Linked DNA regions of Homo sapiens: region 2 is linked to region 1. The links are contacts of gene promoters, found by promoter capture Hi-C in blood cells and fetal thymus (Javierre and others, 2016). All regions are on one chromosome and are shown on one strand. The core of a region is centred on a gene start or on the middle of the fragment in contact, and the rest is flanking DNA. Distances in the headings are between cores, read along the strand shown.

What was found. The method cuts DNA at HindIII sites, captures the fragments that hold promoters and counts their contacts. A CHiCAGO score of 5 or more calls a contact.
Region 2: a contact is called between a fragment that was not itself captured here and the fragment with the promoter of DNAH2 in region 1, in 1 of 17 cell types (activated CD4 T cells). The highest score is 7.6, in activated CD4 T cells.

The regions. Positions count from the first base shown.
Region 1 is chr17:7,715,148-7,720,741 of GRCh38, reverse strand. It overlaps DNAH2 (dynein axonemal heavy chain 2), which reads right to left and starts at 2,998. Exons shown (of 86, transcript NM_020877.5): 1 at 1,943-2,998; 2 at 842-1,021. The coding sequence starts at 1,007. The HindIII fragment of the contact is 13,987 bases long and covers 1-5,594 here.
Region 2 is chr17:8,317,548-8,323,141 of GRCh38, reverse strand. It overlaps ARHGEF15 (Rho guanine nucleotide exchange factor 15), which reads right to left. Exons shown (of 16, transcript NM_173728.4): 10 at 4,681-4,755; 11 at 4,480-4,572; 12 at 4,232-4,392; 13 at 3,983-4,135; 14 at 3,748-3,830; 15 at 3,539-3,643; 16 at 631-2,300. The coding sequence ends at 2,149. Among named protein-coding and RNA genes, the nearest start is that of ARHGEF15, 10 kb to the right of the region's middle. The HindIII fragment of the contact is 1,237 bases long and covers 2,758-3,994 here.

The sequences.
Region 1 (5,594 bases), core at 1,749-4,248:
CCCAGGGACTTTTCTCCCATGCCCACGCTTAACCTCTCAACCTTTAATTTTAGAAGGGGATTCTATTTCACAAGCTACTATCAGTGTAAAGGAGCTCCAGGTAAAGAAGGAGGTCTACACTTAGCTCATAGTCCTGTCTACACTGACCAGTGCTCTCAGGGAGATCCCAGCAATAGCAACAACTACCAAAAACCTTCCAACCTTACTGGCTCCGGCTCACCCACAGGAAAGGAATCCCTCAGGTCAAAGCCACAAGAGGCTGCCTCGTTAAACTCTTTCCTCCCTAGATCTAGACTTCTTTCCTGTCATCCTGAACCTGAACCTCCGCAGTCTACCAAGTCCCTGCCAAAATGAGGGCGGAGATAGAACAGCCCTCAACAGATGGTAGAAAGCATCAGCCGGGCTTTGGATTCAAAGGGTGGCAAAACAGGCTGAGTCTCCATGGTGATGGGCTTAATGGGAGAAAAACATTATTTGTTTTGCCACCCAGGGTGAAAATGGGAAAAAGGAAGAGATCAAACCCTCTTCAGTGGGGTAGGAGCAACCAGGAACACTTGAAATAAGGAGGAAGAGGCTAGAGAAAGGACTGGTTGGTGAACTCCTGGTATATTGTGGGAAATTTTAAGACAGAAAGAACAAGGATGAGGCTGGCCAGGAGGAAGACATACAAAAAAAGGACTCAGTGGCAGGGCTGCTGAACCTCCATGGCTGGGGGCGTCACTTAGCCCGTTTCCTGCCCAGAAGCAACAGCGCCTGCTCCCCAGCCCTAAAATGCCTCCAAGCCCCTCTGACTTTCCCCACCCTCCATTGCTAAGCATCCTCTGCCCCAGCAAGTACCCACCAGGCTCCTCCTTGGGGAGCTCAGCCTGCAGCTCTGGCTCACTGACAGCCGGGGCATTCCCCTGCTCCTGTGTGGCCACAGCAGCCCGAGTGGCCCGCCCTGACCAGCTTGCCTGGGAGCTTCCTCGGCCACTCAATCGCTGCTTCTTCTCAGCTTTGCTGGACATCGTGCAGGCAAAACCTACAGGTATACAGGAGTGGAGAGTCTACAAGCAGATACCACCCCTGAACCAGCCCCCTGATACAAGCAGTCCCTTTTGAATTCATAAATTGACTGAAACTCAATATGATCATCTTTTCTGGTGGTACCCACACCCTGCTCCATTAACCACAAGGGCTCTGTACTCCACAGGGGCCTGGGAGGCCTTGCTGTTTTTCCCTAGGATATCCTACTGTCTTCGGGGCACTGGGCTAAAAATCAAAGTCAGTCCCTCAAGGCACTAGGAACAAATGGGAGTTAAAGATGATGGCCAGGCTGGGTGCGGTGGCTCATGCTTGTAATCCCAGCATTTTGGGAGGCCGAGCCGGGTGGATCACCTGAGGTCAGGAGTTCGAGACCAGCCTGGCCAACATGGCAAAACCCCGTCTCTACTAAAAATACAAAAAATTAGCCAGGAGTGGTGGTGCGTGCCTGTAATTCCAGCTACTCGGGAGGCTGAGGCAGGAGAATCTCTTGAACCCGAGAGGTAGAGGCTGCAGTGAGCCAAGATCATGCTACTATACTCCAGCCTGGCTGACAGAGTGAGACTCTATCTCAAAAAAAAAAAAAAAAAAGATGGCCAGACACCCCACTAATGAGGATTTAGAACCTCTATCTCTGCCCCGGGGTATGAGAACATAAGATAATCAGGAAAAGATCTATCAAGCTGAAGTGTGGTTGCCCAAACCCTCATCCACTCTACCCTCCAGGACCATGAGTGAGTGAGAGAGGATCAAGGAAGGGGTGCACATCCCCCATCCTTTGTCACTGTTCAATCATTCAAGCAAACCAAGATGATTTTCCTATGTACCTCTTTTCCTCCCAAGTTAAATGGAAATATGCTCCTCCCAATCCCACTAAAATCTGCAACATCTGTAAACAGAGAAAAACAGTATTTGCCACCTGGGTCTATCGCTTTGAAGTCCTGAGGGGCAGGAACACTGTTTTGTGTGTACTGAGGTCTCTTAGCAGAGTTGGCTGAGGAACTCTGTGCTAATGGTTAAGATCAGTCAGGATCATTTATTTGACTCAAAATGCCCTGAGAACAGATTGGAAGAAAGAAGGACAAAAGTCATCCAATCATAAATTTCAAATTGTGTCATGAGGAAAAAGCAATTGGGGCACGAGGAAGGTCACAGTGGTGCCTCTCTCAGAAAGGTAGGATGGCAGGAAGCGGGGATCTCGGACAGGTGCTCAGAATCCCAGGCGCAAAGTCTGAGGCGCTGGGCACTCTCTTTTCATTAGGCTGCAGCCTAACGGCACCTGTGGCTCTCCTTCCTCATCCCCACAGGCTGCCACAGGCATTGATCTCAGGTTATGAATTTCAAACTTGAAGGATTTGTACTTTGCTCCAAGGAAAAACGTTCTGTTAGGCCAGCAAATCAATAAAACCAACTACAGCAAGGAGGCTTCCTCCATCAGTCTCCAGAGAAGCATCAAGCTGCGCTTTCCTGCCTCAAACTAGAGCCTGAGGCGCATGCACCGTGGGGTTCACCACGCGATCCCACACCGCAGGCCCCAGGAGGAACTGCTCTGCTAAGTCGGGGCTCACTCTAGTACTAGGAAATACCGCAGGGGCCAGCAGTATTTATCCTGCAGTATAAATCCAGCAGTATTTATCCAGCAGTATTTATACCAGCAGCTGGTATCCTTAAACTGGTTACCAGCAGGCAAATTTCCCCTCAGAATGGCTCTTCCCCCCCAGCTGTCACAACTGCCCCTTCTCCTCCCCCTCCCCCACACAAATATTCCTTGCTCCCTCTCCCTCCACAACTGCCTCTTCTCCCCAACAACTGTCCCTTCCTACCCCGACACTACTGCCCCTTCTCCCCAGCACTCCTTCCCTCCTTCCCTCTGCCCCCGACACACACCTTGCCACGCTGACCCTCCCCTCCCTAGACCGACCGATGGGCCACTCTAAGAAGTTGCCCCTCGCAGCCCTCTCGGGCCGGCGTCTGCACGCGTCCCCATGGCAACCCCGGGCAGGGAGGGGCGAGTGGCCGGTGTGCGGCCCCTCGGAGCCCGCCTCCTCCGCGCAGGCGCCCTGGATCCCTGCTTCGCGGCCCCACCCCGCCCAGGTCTACCCCTCAGGGACCCAGGGCTTGAAGGCTCCGGGACTAAAGGAAAGTAGCCACATCTGGCGAGCCGAAGGGTGCGGGGGGCCTGGTGTCAGGACCCAGCTGGAAGGGCTGGGGCGAGAGACAGTGAGCCACCGCCCCGCAGGACATTGAAAAGGCAGGGAGAACCCAATCGCCCGACCCCGCGCCCAGGTCTGTGCGCCCCAGCCGGAACGGGTCCAGCAGATGGCGCCGGGCGCCAGGCCGGCGAGGGATATTCGCGATGTAGAAGGCGTTCCAGGATTTCCAGGCAGCCGTGGGTGCAGCTGGATCCGGGGGAAAAACCGGGCCTGGAGCACCCTTGCCCTCCTGCTCCTTCCCCCTTCTTAGTTCGGATTGGGGTCTAGGATTGCGGGGGGGCGGCGCGGGGCGGGGAAAGGGAGGGAAGACGGGAACTGGAGTTTTGGGAATCTGAGGATTGGCTTTCGAAGGCATCGCTGGTTTTTGGGGGGGATGAGAGGCGGGGACTCCCTGGGGAAGGTGACCGGGCCTGGGAGGGGCTTCGCTCTCCATAGGAACAAAGGCTGCGTCGTGAGAGAGGAGGCGAGAGGGGAGGGCTATGAGGGCCGGGGTACATCTCCGAGGGTGCCAGGGGGCGCTGCGGGCCGGGGCTGCTAGAAGGCGCCTGGAAGACCGCTGTACCTGGTGCCGGGAGGAGCTTTGGGGAGACCTGGGAAATACAGGGAGGAAGCCGAGTGGGGGGATGGGAAGGCGCCCTCCCTGTTTCCATCAATAGTGCCTAATTAAGACAAAGCCAGCAGCGAGCCCACTGATTACATTTCCATGAGGAGCGAAATTTATGACATTTTCTTTGCTGGATGAGGAGAAGAGAAGCTGGCACCTCAGTTCCCCCATTTTCTGTTTGGCGTTCACACCTAACAGATCTCATTATGCCAGCCTGGCACTACCAGGAGTGGCAGTCCCTGGTACTCCTGAAGAGCAAGTGGATTAACCACACCCTATCCCAGCGCTGACCTCACCCTCCCACCTACCGTATCTTTATTCCCAGAAGTGTCAACCCTTTCCCTCCCCCCGACCCCCAATAATTCCTCCTGCCCAGCCAGACTCCTGTTGCTGACAGCAGGAATGGAAGGAGAGGAGTACCGCCCACCCCAAAACCAGCTGCACAGCTAGCACAGCTAAGATGGAACGTGGAGGTGTTCCTCTAGCCAGATAGGCCATGGGTGGCAGACAGAGGTGATGTGGTTGGCCAGAACCCCTAGGGAAAAGTCCCAAAGGAGTGAAAATTTGCTGGAGGCGTGGGGTGGGGAGCCTCAGGGGCAAGGTTCATGGGTCCCTCGGGGAAAGGAACTTTGCACAGACCCCATTTCTTTTCTTAAACCCCCCTCCCCAACTGTGGCTGTGCCTACGGATCCCAGCCCCCCACATTATGCTAAATAGGTAATCAAACATCTCGCTTTGCTAATTACTGCTCAATCCGATTAAACGCTGCTGAAGCTCATCAACAGAGGTGGAGGTAGGGGGAAGGGACGAAGGCGGGGCAACCACAGCTAGCTATGATGGGGGTCTTTTCCCCAGGGGCTCTTCGGGGCTAGAGAAACAGCCAGGGTTGCAAGACCGTGTACATCCCAAAGGAAAGGGCAGAAGAGTTGTGACCTCGAGCCTCAGCCTTGCTGCACCTCCCAGCCACGGCCCTTTTCCTCCTCCCAGAACCTTCATTACCCTCCGAACCCAGGCATCCGGCCATTCCCACAGCTCCCCACACACATCCCTGTCCCAGATTTAATAAGTTCTGTTCCCTCATTGTCAATATTTGATTTCTCAGAGCCATCTCCACGGAGAGGGGGGTGGGGGATCTTTCCTTGCCTCCCCCCTACTTTGGCCCTCTTTTGCCCACCCCCAGTCTCTTTGTGCCCCCAACCTTCTCTGAACTTGCTGACTTAATGAAATGATATTAAAGTCTTAAGCAACTCCAAAAGAATGGTTGTTATGGTGAAGGGAGTGGGCAGGACGCCTGGGTCCCGGAGGGGAGCAAAGGCTGAGGAGGGGGAAAGGGAGCCAGAGGCTAAGGTCTAGAGACCCCAGTCCCTAGTGGGGAACAGCAGATTTGGGGTGAGCTGGGGGCCAGACCTCTGGATCTTGGCTGGAAGCAGGGGATGAGGACTGGGGGCTAGGAGAAGGTGGAAAGAGAGGTCCATTCCAGGGGTCAGGGTCTCGGCCTGCTGTCCGGATCATTCATCAGAGACAGAGGCCAGGGGAGACAGGGCCTCTATGCCAGCAGCCTCCCTGCCGGCTGTGCCCTGGGCTGGTCCCGTGAGAACCAGAGTAGATTACTCTACAGCCTGACTCATCCTTCTCCCCCAGCAGCCCCCCACAGGTGATTTGTAGCTGATGCCCCCACGATGGTAGGGGCCAGGATAGTCATTCCATGACATGAAGAACTGAGAGCTTCCAGGACAGAAGAGAACAGAGGCCAA
Region 2 (5,594 bases), core at 2,127-4,626, 600 kb before region 1:
CTTTATCGCTGCCCTTTTTTTTTTTTTTTTTTTTTTTTGAGACAAGGTCTTGCTTTGTCACCCAAGCTGGAGTGCGGTGATGCGAACATGGCACGTTGCAGCCTCGACCTCCCAGGGTGAAGCTATCCTCTTGCCTCAGCCTCCCGAGGAACTGGGACTATAGGCGCATGCCACTACACCTGGGTAATTTTGTATTTTTTGTAGAGACAGGGTTTCATTATGCTGCCCAGGCTGGTCTCAAACTCCTGAGCTCAAGTGATCTGCCCACCTCGGCCTCCCAAAGTGCTGGGATTACAGGTGCAAGCCACCGTGCCCGGCCCTGACTGCCCTTTTTATCCTTCTTGCTGCATTCTCATCCCCTGCCAAAGCCCCAGGCATTGCCCAGCCTGCAGCAGCCCCCAACCACAGCTGTTGCAAACCCACCACCATCGCCACAACCACCACCACCTGAGATCCCTCAGGAACTGTGAGTGGGCTAACACACTCAGGTCTAGCACATGACCTTCAAGCCCCAGTTCCCAACAGAATTGACCCCTGCTCTGGACCCCTTTCCAAGCAGCCCCATCCCCTTATAAACCATGCTTGGAGACCACTGCTCCTATAAGCACACACTTCCTCAGAGAGCCTCAATACAAATGCACCACTATTTACTGAGGGTTCCCCACACGTCAGGCACCCTGCTAGGGGAGTCTCCAATGTCATGGACATGCCAAATGCCAGTGCTCTTCGCCCTCTGAGTCTCCCGGAGTCCCTGTGCCTCCTGCAGTCAGGGTGACAGTGTCAGTCCTGGGCAAGTTGCTGTGCCTGAGCTGAAGGGGAGGCCTCGTCCCGGGCCTGGGCCCCCCTGCCAGCCACTGTCTGCCTTGCTGTCTCTGTCCCTCGCCTCCTCTGGTATCATGCGAGGCACTGGCTCATCTGGAAGCAGATGCTCTGGATGGGGTTGGGCAGCCACACCCGCTCTCCAATCTCTCCCCACTGTTTGGCCCAGTGTTTCTGTGAGAGGATCAGGACAAAGGCAAGAAAGCCCAGGAGGTTCACTGGCTGGCCTGTGGTCCACAGCTCCCGTTTCTTCACCCAGATGCAGGATCTAATGTGGTTCCAAAGCTCAAGGCTGAGGCTGGCTGGTGGATTATAGTTCAAGTTGGGAGATCTGCAGGCAGGAATTATGGAGGCCAGTGTTTGGGGCAAGGAGAAGGGTCTGCAGACTTCAGGGGCCTCAGGACCCAGCTACTGGCCATCTTCAGTCCCTTGGGCTCCTCTGCCAGGCCGTTGGCTGCTCCATAACATTGCCCTGCAACTGCCACAGAACCCTAGCCTCCAAGAGACCCAAAGCTCAGGGCTCTCATCCCCTGGGTGCCAAGCCACACCCAGCACAGTCTCTTCTGGAGCTCAGACTTAGCATCTTTCTTGGAGCGAATAATAGGAAAAATGGGGGGTAAAGGAAGAAATGGAGCACTCAGTCATTTGTGGGTCAGGAGCACAATCACCACACACACACCACAGTCAGCAGAATGCCTTTCCTGATACATATACACACATATCTACACATGCACATGTACACACACAGATTTTCTGAGACACATACTCTGAATTCTTCTGGAAGAGAAGAACTGGCTTGAGAGGGCACAGGAAGCATCCAGGAATGGAAACTAGTATTTCCCAGACTCAAAAGACAGGACCAGTCATTGCTGCAGAAACAAGCAGGGTGACTACTGGTCTCTTGGGTCCAGATCACCATTTTCTTTGGCTGATTGGCTTCCTGCTCATTCCTGTTCCCAATTTTATCCTACGACTTTATCTCCAATGAGGCCCTTTTTCAACTGCCATGACCTAGATTTGTCTTCCTTGGCCCTGAGCATAGCAGGAATACTCATTGGCCATAGGCTCAGCCAGCTCAGTACCCATTGGCTGCTCTGCACTAAGCCTCTGTCTCCATTGGCCACACATTCAAGGCATCCTCATTCATTCTTATTGCTGTGGGTTCAGGCGGCCGTTTTCATTGGCTGCTCTGTCCTGAAGCTCGATCTCTATGGTTGCCACGAGAGGTAGTATCTCCACTGACAGTGAATCCAATGGATGAATGGGCTTTGTTCTCTCCGTGCCACACTGGTAGGTGTCTCCCAACATGTGCCCCCTCCTCAGCCTGCATTAGGGTGGGGGGGCATTGGGGGTGCCTGAAGAAGATCCAACAGCCTCGAGAAGCCTCTGGTTCTGGCGAAGGTGCCTCCTCCTTTCGTGTTCCCCTGTGACTTCACACACCAGCTGGGCAGGGAAGGCCCCAGGAAGCCCCTTCAGCCAACCTGGGGGAAGAGAGACAGAGGCTCCAATGAGGTGGGGGCAGGGAGCAGGTGAGGAGGCAAAGGGGGCCTCGTGGGGTCTCAGGCCTTCAGGGTCATTGTAGGTGTGGGAATTCATGGACAAGCCTGGAGCATCGGTAGAAAGGGCATCAGAAGTGGAGGTGACAGCAGCTCGGAGAGAGTCTGGGCTGCTCTTCCGTCAAGCCCTGCAGTGGCTGCTCATGTCTCTTGGAGTAAGAGGTGGAGTCCTTGCAGAGACCTGTCAGGTCCTGCGTGATCCCATCCCTGCCACTTCTATGACCTCATTTGCTTCTCCCCCTTTCTCTCTCCTGCTAGTCACACTGGCCTCCTTACAGTTCCTCAGTCACACACCAGCCGCAGGGCCTTTGCACTGCCTGCTGCCTCCAGCTGGGACACTCTTCCCCCAGACACCATGGGCCTAAATTAGCTCCATCAAGCTTCATGTTGCCTTCTCAGTGAGGTCCACCTCGGCCTCCCTATTGAAAATTTCAGTCTGCCCAACCCTGGAACTCCTGACCTTCTTTGCTCTGCTCACTTTTTTTTTTTTCCATAACACTCATAACCTTCACATGTACTTTATAATTTACTTATCTATTTTGCTCATTCTTTATCGTCTGCCTCCTCTGCTAGAACGTAGCTCCAGCAAGGAAGGAAGTGTGATATATTTGATTCACAGTCCCTAGAACAGCGAGTGGCACTTTGTAGGTGCTTAATAAATATTTATTGAATGAATAAATGAAACACGGCCAGGCGCAGTGGCTCACGCCTGTAATCCCAGCACTTTGGGAGCCTGAGGCAGGAGGATCACTTGAGCTCGGGAGTTCAAGACCAGCCTGAGCAACATAGTGAGACCCCCCACCTCCATTAAAAAAAAAAAAGAATAGAAATAAGGCCTGGCACCAGAGGCTCATGCCTGTAATCCCAGCACTTTGGGAGGTGAAAGGGGACGGATCACCTGAGGTTAGTTCGAGACCAGCCTGGCCAACATGGTGAAACCCCATCTCTACTAAAAATACAAAAATTAGCCAGACGTGGTGGTGGGCACCTGTAATCTCAGCTACTTGGGAGGTTGAGGCAGGAGAATCCCTTGAACCCAGGAGGCAGAGGTTGCAGTGAGCCGAGCTCACACCACTGCACTCTAGCCTGGCTGACAGAATGAGACTCTGTCTCAAAAAATAATAATAATAAATACAAAATAAATAAATGAAAGACTTTCTCACCTTCAGGGGTCTTGTGCAGGTGTTTGGGGGCAGCCCTGGACTCCAGACTCCGTCCTTCAGTCTTGGCAGGTGCAGACGACTCTGAACACAGTTCCTGGGAACAGTCTGGTTGGGGGTGGGTGACATTAAAGTGATTCTGTTTAGCTTCTCCCCCATATTCCTCTAAGACTCGCTTTTTCTTCCCTCATCCCCTCTAGGGGGATACTCACCACAGTCCTCATAGATGGTGTCTGGGGAGCAGGGAAGGGGGCCTGGGGTTGGGAAGGCTCCCAGCCAGCGCTGCATGTCTGATCTGGTGGGGATATTGGGAAGTGTCACAGTTGGCCCAAAAGATCCTCTGGGGCTGAGGCAGGAGCCACAGAAGAGAGAGACTGGGGAAGTGGGGGAGGTCTGAGAGGTCAGATAAGTGTCCCAAGGTTGTTTTCTGAGGGAAACACAACTCACAGGGAAGAAGCTTGGAGTAGTCGGTGGGTGGGGCGGCCCTGGTGGTTGCTGAGAAGGGAGAGGCGGAAGGTAGGGGGTCCAGATGGATCCGGAACCTGCTGGGCCTGGACCAGGGAGCGATGGGCATAGTCCAGAACCTGTAACCGCTGCCCACTGCCCAGGGATGAGGTCGTTCAGAAGGACAGCAGGGGTCCCGCTGGACCCCTCCTGCCCACTCCAGCCTGGGCTCCTTCCTTCCCTAGGACTCACCTCTTAGGCTGAGTGATGAGCAGCAGGTCGCTAAAGAGCAGCAGGCAAAGAGGGGTGAAGCGGGGGCGCGAGGCAAAGAGCACGCCCCCCCTCCGGCACCCTAACTCAGTCAGCTCTCCCTGGAATTCCAGGCGCCGTGACCAGGAGACCAGGGGCAGGGCCTGCGAGGAAGCGGAGGCAGAGGAGGTTCTAGCGTGGCAGCAGCAACATGGGGCAGGGCAAGATGGGGAGCCTGGGCAGCGATGTACCTTGACTTTGTGGAAGCGCAGCCTTTGGGTGAGCCGGATCAGCTCTTCAGTCTGCTTCATGCGCCCCACCTCAGCGCTGCAACGCTCGATGATCTAGGTAAGGGGAGCTGTGTCACCACCCCAGCGGCCAGCCCCCTGCTCCCTACCATTTCTCTCTACCACCTTGTCACCTCCCCCTGCTTCAGCTTCCCCACTGCCCACCTTGCTGACAGCACCCAGGGCCTTCTGGGCATTCTCCTGACGGCTGGACCCCTCTTCTGTCTGGCGCAGGATATTCTGGGGACAAGGAGGAAGGGTGACTGGGCCCCCTGCTCTGTGGCCCTGGGATTCAGAGGGGCCACAGCTCAGAGGACCCTGTCTGTTTCAGCCAGTTTCAACAAGGCTGACAGACCTCATCACTCACCATCTGCAGAACCCTGAGCAAGTCCTGTTACCTCTCTGAGCCTCAGCTTCCCTATCTGTAAAATGGGGCTAATACCCACCTAGCATATCAATAGCATTGTTTTGAGGATTCAAGAAGGCAATATATGTAAAGTGCTTAGCATAGTTCTTGGCACATATTAAATGTTGAAAAGAAGGTTCTTATTTTTTTTTCTTCCGGAGTCTGGCTCTGTCACCCAGGCTGGAGTGCAGGGGTGCGATCTCGGCTCACTGCAACCTCTGCCTCCCGGGTTCAAGTGATTCTCCTGCCTCAGCCTCCCAAGTAGCTGGGATTACAGACGTGTGCCACCACGCCCGACTAATTTTTTTGTATTTTTAGTAGAAGCGGGGTTTCACCATGTTGGCCAGGCTGGTCTTGAACTCCTGACCTCAGATGATCCACCCGCCTCGGCCTCCCAAAGTGCTGGGATTACAGGCATGAGCCACCGTGCCTGCCCCGAAGGTTCCTATTATTTTAATAATTATTAACCAAAACTGTTAGTGCAGGCAATATAGCAGAGTAGCTAAGAGTGCTTAGATTACAATTTTGTCTCCATCAATTATTTCTGTATGACCTGAGGCAAGTTATGTGACCTGTGCCTTAGCTTTCTCATGTCTAAAGTAGGACAAGTAATAGTTCCTACCCTCACATAGTTGCAGGTAAGGTTACACAGGTGTATAGCACTTAGAACCAT